Regions from separate parts of the Homo sapiens genome. Here region 1 is linked to region 2. The links are contacts of gene promoters, found by promoter capture Hi-C in blood cells and fetal thymus (Javierre and others, 2016). All regions are on one chromosome and are shown on one strand. The core of a region is centred on a gene start or on the middle of the fragment in contact, and the rest is flanking DNA. Distances in the headings are between cores, read along the strand shown. Region 1 overlaps CDK7 (cyclin dependent kinase 7). Region 2 holds the start of OCLN (occludin).

Evidence for each region. Contacts are between HindIII fragments. The CHiCAGO score rates a contact against its expected background, and 5 or more counts as called.
Region 1: a fragment that was not itself captured here is called in contact with the fragment with the promoter of OCLN in region 2 in 1 of 17 cell types (naive B cells); the score reaches 5.0 in naive B cells.

Annotation. Positions count from the first base shown.
Region 1 is chr5:69,251,917-69,256,690 of GRCh38, forward strand. It overlaps CDK7 (cyclin dependent kinase 7), which reads left to right. Exons shown (of 12, transcript NM_001799.4): 3 at 502-535; 4 at 2,686-2,753; 5 at 3,544-3,612. Among named protein-coding and RNA genes, the nearest start is that of CDK7, 19 kb to the left of the region's middle. The HindIII fragment of the contact is 554 bases long and covers 1,208-1,761 here.
Region 2 is chr5:69,490,398-69,494,914 of GRCh38, forward strand. It overlaps OCLN (occludin), which reads left to right and starts at 2,393. Exons shown (of 9, transcript NM_001205254.2): 1 at 2,393-2,503. The HindIII fragment of the contact is 10,406 bases long and covers 1-2,743 here.

The DNA.
Region 1 (4,774 bases), core at 235-2,734, 240 kb before region 2:
AACCTGTTAATGTAATTTGTTATGTTTATTCAGAGTAACAACATTTTAACCATCACAATTTGTAATTTTGCTTTTTGAAAAATGTGGTGTCTAAGAGCATATTATTGGGCTTATTACCAACTCTACAGCATGTTATTTTCTGTATCTTTCCTCCCAAGTAGCCTAATTTGAAGTTACGTATTTATTTTTAATCAGGGTACCCTTAGTTATTTGGTCCACATTGAACCTTGAAAAGGTAAAATAGATTTTTCTTAATTTTATTATTTGAATGTGTAGTTCAGAAACTTAAGGGACAAGGGTAGGTATTTGATTCTCTCTTATATTGTTAATTTTATCTTTCTGATCATGATTCCTACTCTCTTTTTGCCTAGTAGGTACATATTGGTTGCTAATTGTTTTTTTTTCTGTGGCGAAGTATTTGAAGTATTTACACATTATTCATTGATTCTAAATAATTTAACACATTTTTAATATATTTGGGTTTTTTTCCGTTTCTACCAGATCAAACTTGGACATAGATCAGAAGCTAAAGATGGTAAGTATTTCATGTAATCTGACAGATAGGAAAAGTTTTCTCCTTTTTTTTTTTTTTTTTTTTTTTTTTTTTTAAAAAGACAGGGTCTTGCTCTGTCACCCAGGCTGGAGTACTGAGACACAATCGTAGCTCACTGCAGCCTCAAACTTAGGTACTCAAGCAGTTCTCCCACCTCAGCCTCTTGAGTAGCTAGGGCTGTAAACATGTGCCACCACTTGTGGTTAATGTTTTATTTTTTGTAGAGATGAGGTCTGGCTGTGTTGCTCAGGCTTCTCTCAAACTCCTGGCCTCAAGCTATCCTCCCACCTCGGCCTCCCAAAGTGCTGGGATTACAGGCTTGAGCCACCATGCCCAGCATAAAGTTTTCATTCTCACTGAAGAAACGAGCAAAGTATGAATTAATAAGTTAGTAATGGTTCTGGATAGAGTTACTGCAGGGTCCCCGAAGAGTAAAGATAGACTCAGCATAGAGAAGGAGTATTTGGTGATTTTTACTTACTGGATATTCAGAGAAACATTCCAAATCACCCACATAAATGGAAGGCAGCAAGCTTAATTAGTTTGTCTTTCTGTCTTCATTACTGTTTTAGGTGTTACAAGCCATTGTTTTTTCTGTTTCTGAGTTTCTAATTACTTTGAAAATTCAGGATACATTTTCATGAAAGTACATAAAGCTTACTATGGAATAGATACATGAGGAAATTATTTCATTAAACTTTCTTCCAAAGTCTTATTTATTAGGATTCATCATAAAATAGCTCTTACAAAAGAGACCCATTGTCTGTGTAAGTGCCAATACTATATCTTATTTTTATTTTGTTTATTTTTTTTGAGACAGAGTCATGCTCTGTTGCCCAGGCTGGAGTGCAGTATCGCAATCTCGGCTCACTGCAACCTCTACCTCCCGGGTTCAAGCGATTCTCCTGCCTCAGCTTCCTGAGTAGCTAGGATTACAGGTGCACACCACCATGCCCAGCCAATTTTTTGTATTTTTAGTAGAGATGGGGTTTTGCCACCTTGGCCAGGCTGGTCTCGATCTCCTGGCCTCAAGTGATCTGCCCACCTAGGCCTCCCAAAGTGCTGGGATTACGAGCCACCGCGCCCGGCCTGTATCTAATTTTTAATTTTGAAATCTGTCATTTGTATTGGAAAATATACTATCTTATCACTAGTTTGCTTTTAGCACAAACAATATGCCACTAATATTTGTAGGGCAAGAGTAGGGAAGCTTATCACCTATATGCTGCACACTTATATATGTTGTTAGTCTAGTAGTGGTGTTCAGATCCTGGTATAGATAAGGTGAAATATTTTTCACCATTTGTCGTAGTCTTTGTTAAGCTATTTTAAAAGTAAAGCAATATTGGCCTGGTGCCATGGCTTACGCCTGTAATCCCAGCACTTTGGGAGGGTGAGGTGGGTAGATCGCCTGAGCTCAGGAGTTCGAAACCAGCCTGGCCAATATGGCAAAACCCCATCTCTAACGAAAATACAAAAAATTAGCCAGGCGTGGAGGTGCACACCTGTGGTCCCAGCTACTCGGGAGGCTGAGGTGGGAAAATTACTTGAGTCTGGGAGGTGGAGGCTGCTGTGAGCCGAGATCATGCCACTGCACTCCAACCTGGCTGACAGGGTGAAACCCCATCTCAAAAAAAATAAATAAATAAAAATAAAGCAATGTAAAAGAACAACAGATTTGACATAAAAATTGTCAAAGTAGCCCTTATTTTTGTGGGTAATGTTCACTATTTTCTGAGATTACTAACCTTTCTTTAAAAATATGTGTTTGTGGCTGGGTGTGGTGGCTCACGCCTGTAATCCCAGCACTTCAGGAGGCCAAAGCGGGTGGATCACGAGGTCAGGAGTTGGAGACCAGCCTGATGAACATGGTGAAACCCCGCCTTTACTAAAAATACAAAAATTAGCCGGGCGTGGTGGCGCGTGCCTGTAATCCCTGCTACTCTGGAGGCTGAGGCAGGAGAATTGCTTGAACCCGGGAAGCAGAGGTTGCAGTGAGCCGAGATCACGCCACTACACTCTAGCCTGGGCGACAGAGCGAGACTCCATCTCAAAAAAAAAAAAAAAAAAGAAGTGTTTGTAAGGTTTGAGATTTCAGAATTATTCACTTTTTGCTTTGCCTTTTTATATAGGTATAAATAGAACCGCCTTAAGAGAGATAAAATTATTACAGGAGCTAAGTCATCCAAATATAATTGGTGTGAGTATGATCAAAACTGTTACTGGGATTTGGGACTCTGCCTTTTCTTAATATAATGGATGTTGATTAAAGGCTCAGCAAGATGACTTGTTCTGGATGAGCCTTGTAGAAGCTTAAAGGAAATACATTTTCTATCCCAGTTGTTTTGGTAGGCATTGTCTTCAAAACTATACCACTGATTAAATAAATGAAATATTGACATGTAGGCTAATTTTGTCGGAAATAATTTTGAAGTCTAGGGAGCTCTAGCATGTAGTGGCTGAGAGTGTCAACCTGAATTCAAAACCTTTCTTTCTGCCTGTGTGAGACCTTGAGTGTGTTCACTCACAACTCCCCAGAGTCCCTGCCTCATAGGGAAGTTGTGAGACTAGCCAATTGAATAGATGTAAAGTATCTGGAATAGTGCCTACCATAGAAAATGTATTCATTCATTCAATGATAGCTGCTGTTATTTAGAGGATTTCTTAAGAATCACATTTGGGACTTTTCTTTTGAATTGGAGACTGGAATGAGGTTTTCATTGGTTAATTTCTTAATTCTAACTCCAAATATTTGGGGAAAGAGGTTGGGTATTTTTTTAAGTAAAATTTAATATTTTTATGCTTCAAAATACTAATTCCTTTAGTACTGTCCAAAAAAGGACAAATGTCAAATTTAATCAAATGATTTAAGCTTTATAGGGAATTACCAACAGTTTAAATGCTTTTTAAATTTTTAAAAATTGCCTCAGTTGCTATGATACTGTCAGGTATTAAATAGTGAATCACATTTTAATTTTTTAACTTTGCAGCTCCTTGATGCTTTTGGACATAAATCTAATATTAGCCTTGTCTTTGATTTTATGGAAACTGATCTAGAGGTAAGATTAAGATTCCTGGAGAAATTCCTTTGTCCCAGTTTATCAAACAAGAACCTAAATATTTGTTTTCTACCCAAGAAGATACTGGTAGTAAAAGAAAAAAAGCTTAATTTTGTTGAAATTTGGATGTACTCTGAGGCAAAAGGATCTCTAGTTATTTTCTTCTAATCATTTAGTGATATCCCCAGTGTTACATACAAAGATTTGGATTTCATTGGCATTTCTGCCTTCTAAGTTCCCATAGCTAGTTGACGTCATTTTTGGAGAAATGAGCATTAGACCTATAAGATTTGTTTGCTTTTTTTTTTTTTTGTGATGGAGTCTCAGTCTGTTCACCCAGCCTGGAGTGCAATGGCGTGATCTCGGCTCTCTGCAGCCATCACCTCCTGGGTTCCAGTGATTCTCTCACTTCAGCCTCCCAAGTAGCTGGGATTACAGGTGCCACCACGCCCGGCTAAATTTTATATTTTAAGTAGAGACGGGGTGTCACCATGTTGGCCAGGCTGGTCTTGAACTCCTGACCTCAAGTGATCTGCCTGCCTCAGCCTCCCAAAGTGCTAGGATTACAGGCATGAGTCACCATGCCTAGCAACCTATAAGAATTTAAAATTTATTTCTGGCCAGTGCAGTGACTCACGCCTGTAATCTCAGCACTTTGAGAGGCCAAGGCAAGAGGATTGCTTAAGCCCAGGAGTTCAAGACCAGCCTGGACCCCATAGATCCTGTCTCAGCTTTACAAATTATATTAAAAAATAAAGAAACTTATTTCCATATAATCAGAGTAATGTCATTCTTTTGAAAGCCAAGTTTTTTTGTTTGTTTTTGTTTTTGTTTTGTTTTTTTGAGACAGAGTCTTGCTTTGTTACCCGTGCTGGAGTACAGTGGCGCGATCTCAACTCACTGCAACCTCTGCCTCCCAGGTTCAAGCAATTCTTGTGCCTCAGCCTCCTGAGTAGCTGGGATTACAAGCGCCCATCACCATGCCCAGCTAAAATAGAGATGGGGTTTCACTATGTTGGACGGGATGGTTTCAAACTCTTGACCTCTGGCGATCTACCTGCCTGAGCCTCCCAAAGTGCTGGGATTATAAGCGTGAGCCACCATGCCCGGCCTCTTTCTTTTAGATAAATACCTAGCAGTGGTATTGCTAGATCACAAGATT
Region 2 (4,517 bases), core at 1,143-3,642:
AAAATAGTTGAAGGAATGAATTGGGAAAGCAAATAGAATATGAAAGCCTTCTACCCAACACAACATGTCTTTGAGTTTAGGTTTAGGGTGGGAATAAGAAAAATAACATGATATGCATAAGTTATCTTAAAATGATAAAAAGTTTAATTTAAAAACCTAATTTACCAAGAGAACCGAAAACATATGTCCACACAAAAACTTGTACACAAATGTTCATAGTAACATTATTCATAACATCCCCAAAGGAGAAACAACCCAAATGTTCATCAACAGATGAATGATTAAACGAAATGTGATACATCGATACAATGGAATATTATTCAGTTATAAAAAGGAATGAAGTACCAATACATACTACATCATGGATGAACCTTTAAAATATTATGCTAAGTGAAAGAAGACAGACACAAAGGGCACATATTGTATTATCCATTCATATAAAATGTCCAGAATAGGCAAATTAATAGAGACAGAAAGTACATTAGTGGTTGCCGAGGGATGAGGGGAGAGGGGAAATGGGGAGTGACTATTAATGGGCATGGGGTTTCTTTTGGGGGCGATTAAAATGGAATTAGATGGTGGTGATGGTTGTACAATCTGGTGAGTATACTAAAACCCACTGAATTGTACGTGCCCTTTAAAAGGGTGAATTTTATGGTATGTGAACTCTCTTTTATAAAGTGGAAAAAAACTCCTAAGATCTCTTCAGAACATGTCAAAATACATTATAAAATAATAGACATGTGTTTACAAATCTGAGAGTATTAGGAAATGTTCCCTTGTTTAATTATAAACCAAATGGAATGTTTGGAGATTTCAGTAATCTGACAGGGAACATTAAGGGGATTAACCTGACTTCCCCAGTGTTAACAATACCAATTTAAACTGCATCATTCAAAAACTACATAGTCATATTAAAGCATTTGTAGCAATGACTTCCACGAAAAAAATACCAATTAAATTAATTACCCATTAAAGCTGCCATCATCTGAAATACCTCATATTTATATAGTGCTTTTACTTCCTCAAGTATGAATTGTGCCTTAAGATCTAATGTATGGGAGAGTCACATCTCTAACCATTTAATTAAAGGTAGAGAAGTGGGTGGGATTGGATAGAAATTTATTAGCAATGCTGACATTCCAGATTGGAACACAAAGACAAGCAGGATGTAAGAAACCTAAAAGTTCGCTTTCAATGCAGATAGTTAAATGCCAAGAACTATAATTGCCACATCCTGGAGTACAATTAAAAAATATGTTGAAAAACAACCAACATACATAAAAATATACACAGTGTTAAGTGCAGACTATGAAATTTCCCTTGGAAACAGAATCCAGATCAAGAAATAGAATACAGCACCCGGAACTAAGGTGCTTTTTCGTTTTCTTAAAAAAAAAAAAAAAGTAAACCAAGTTTATTTTGCTTTTTAAGTAGTGTTGTTCTTAAAGCACTACAGGTTGGTAAACAACGTATAAGGTGCTTTTTCTCAGGCCAAAGAGCCATAATAGTTTAAATTTCCCGGTCCTCAAGAGCGGACCGGGTGGGCAGGAGAGGACCCTGGGGTGGTGATGTGTAAACTGTATTATGCACTTTAGCCTGCTGGATGGCAACTAACACCTACAGTAGTTCACCCTCATTTTAACCCCTCTAAGTAATTGTCTCTTATTCTGAATCTAGAGATTCAGAAACAGCGCCAATGTTTACACACGACTTTTGAAATTTTCCCAGGAGTCTTTCGTTGGAGCAATACATCTAGATGCCTTTTTCCAGCAACAGTTTAATCAAATTCTGGAAGCAGAAAAGTGTCCTGTGAGGACGTGCCTTTCCTATCAAAGTGCTGAGTGCCTGGACCCTCTTTCCGGAGGAAACAGTCCCCTCTGGACCTCGTTCGGCCTCTCTCCATCAGACACCCCAAGGTTCCATCCGAAGCAGGCGGAGCACCGAACGCACCCCGGGGTGGTCAGGGACCCCCATCCGTGCTGCCCCCTAGGAGCCCGCGCCTCTCCTCTGCGCCCCGCCTCTCGGGCCGCAACGTCGCGCGGTTCCTTTAACAGCGCGCTGGCAGGGTGTGGGAAGCAGGACCGCGTCCTCCCGCCCCCTCCCATCCGAGTTTCAGGTGAATTGGTCACCGAGGGAGGAGGCCGACACACCACACCTACACTCCCGCGTCCACCTCTCCCTCCCTGCTTCCTCTGGCGGAGGCGGCAGGAACCGAGAGCCAGGTCCAGAGCGCCGAGGAGCCGGTCTAGGACGCAGCAGGTGGGACTCGCGGCGCTGGCCCGCAGGCTTCCCGCACCCCCTTCCACGTTGGTGCGCATGCCCGGGGGCAGGGCCGGTTGTAGGGAGGAGGGAAAGGAGAGGGAGAAGGGGGAGGAGACGTCCCCAGCCCAGTCCCCGGCTGAGCGCTGGCGGTCGGTGCGGCGTCAGGTGCGCCCGCCAGGTGAGCGCGCTCCCTGGCACCGTTGGCCCCCGGAGGGTCGGGCCCAGTTGCGGCGAGCGGGTGAGTGTTGGGCGCGGCGTCAGGGGCGCACGGGAGCCCGAGGGTCCCCGTGGGGGGACCGCGGCGACTATGTTAGGGGAGGTGCCGGGGGGAGGACGCTCCGCGCTGGTTTCGGTGGCAGTTTCGTCCCCGAGCTGGGACTCGTGGGAACCAGAGAGGCGCGGGTCTGCGGAGAGAGCAGCACCGGCCAACTTGGGAGGCTGCCTCCTGGGGCGAGGGGTGGCTTGGAGCCGCCGATCAAGCTTTATTCCGCGGAAACGCTGAAAGCTAGCAGTGCCTCAGCGGCGCGGGCAACTTTTCACTTTTATGGGGCACGACATTCCTGAACAGCGACGATCCTGCATCCGCTCTGGGGCTGCAGTTTGGGGGGGCGGCCTTCATGGAGAGGGATCCTGCGCCCAGCTCCTTGGGGGTCCTAAGCCTGAGGCTGCAGCGAGGCGGCTGTTCGGCGGCCCGGGCGGCTTAGATCCCGGGGGGAATTTCATTCCTTCCGCTCCCACCCCACCCCTTTGGATATCCCGGGGAGACGGGGGCTGGATTCAATCTGTGAAATATTCCAGGAGTCACGGTGTGGGCCACACTGGCTACTTCGAATCCACTTGTTGCGAGTTGTGTGAACCCGCGTCGATTTAAGCTGGGGGGCGGGGAGTTAATTTCGAGTGAGGCTGGACTTCGAGGGAAGCTGCTCACGCTTCGGATTCTCATCCGTGACCAAAAGGGCTGCCCCCAGGGGGGCGGAACTGCCTCCGGGCGGTGCCTGCCCGGCGAACGTGGGCGCGCGCTGCCTGGGAGCGCCTCGGTGCGCACGGAAGCCGGGACCCGCGCCCAGCCGGGCCACGGAGTTTGGGGACCTCCGGGACTGGGCCGGCCCCGCGCGCCAGCCATGTTGCCTGCGTCGGAGGAAGCGTGCGGGGAGCAGGGGTCGAGGGCCAAGATGGCCTCTGCGCCTAGGGGTTGGGAGCGGCGCCGAGCCCCTCGCGCTCCTCGGGAAGCCACCGGGCCCGAGGGAAAAGCCGCGGCATCCTTAGGCCGGACCCGGGGCTCGCTGGCCACACTGCCCGCTTGGGGAATTACCCTGCTCGAGGAGGAGGCGGCGGCTTTCCAGGCCAGTCAGTGTGTGGCCCTTAGGCAACAGGTGTATTATTGGGATACCTGGAAAAGAGAAACGTTTCCCATGAAGGCACTTATGGTGTTTTTTGGTGATTCTTGGTGTGATAGAAAACTAGGCGTTCCCAAGTGTAACAATAGTAACAGTAGTTCTTTTGCACTGTACATATGAGGTGCTTGTGTGTGTGTGTGTGTGTGTTTTTCCGAGACGGAGTCTGGCTCTGTCCCCCAGTGCAGTGGCATCATCTGGGCTCACTGCAACCTCTGCCTCCCGGGTTCAAGCGATTCTCCTGCTCAGCCTCCCGAATAGCTGGGATTACAGGCACCCACTAGTATGCACAGCTAATTTTTGTATTTTTAGTAGAGACAGGGTTTTGCCATTTGGTCAGGCTGGTCTCGAACTCCTGACCTCAGGTGATTCGCCCGCCTTGGCCTCCCAAAGTGCTGGGATTACAGGCGTAAGCCACCACACCCAGCCTTTATGAATATTTTCTTAGTGGTGCTTTAAAATAGACATCTTAAGTGTGTGTGGGAGGCAGAGATATTTCCTCAAACAAAGCAACACTTTTTTTTTGGTCGTTTTGCAATTTATTTAGTTATTAGGGGCCTCCTTTGTTAGGTGACGGAGCAGAGGATAGGGAGATCGGTAAGACATGATTCTCCACCTTTTGGCAGTTTCCAGGCCATTTCGGGAAATAGTGGGCAGCAGTGCCTCCTGCACGTGAGGCACTGTGGTAAAAGCATTCTGTATTTTCTCATTTAATTATCCCAACAACTCTAAAAGGCAGGCCTTAGTAGAACTCCATTTTAAAAGTGGGCAAATGCCGTGGGGGAAACGTTGCAGGTGGGCTTGCTTGCAAACTGCTTCAGCTAATATGGGAAGGAGTATCAGAAGCAGCGGTCCTTG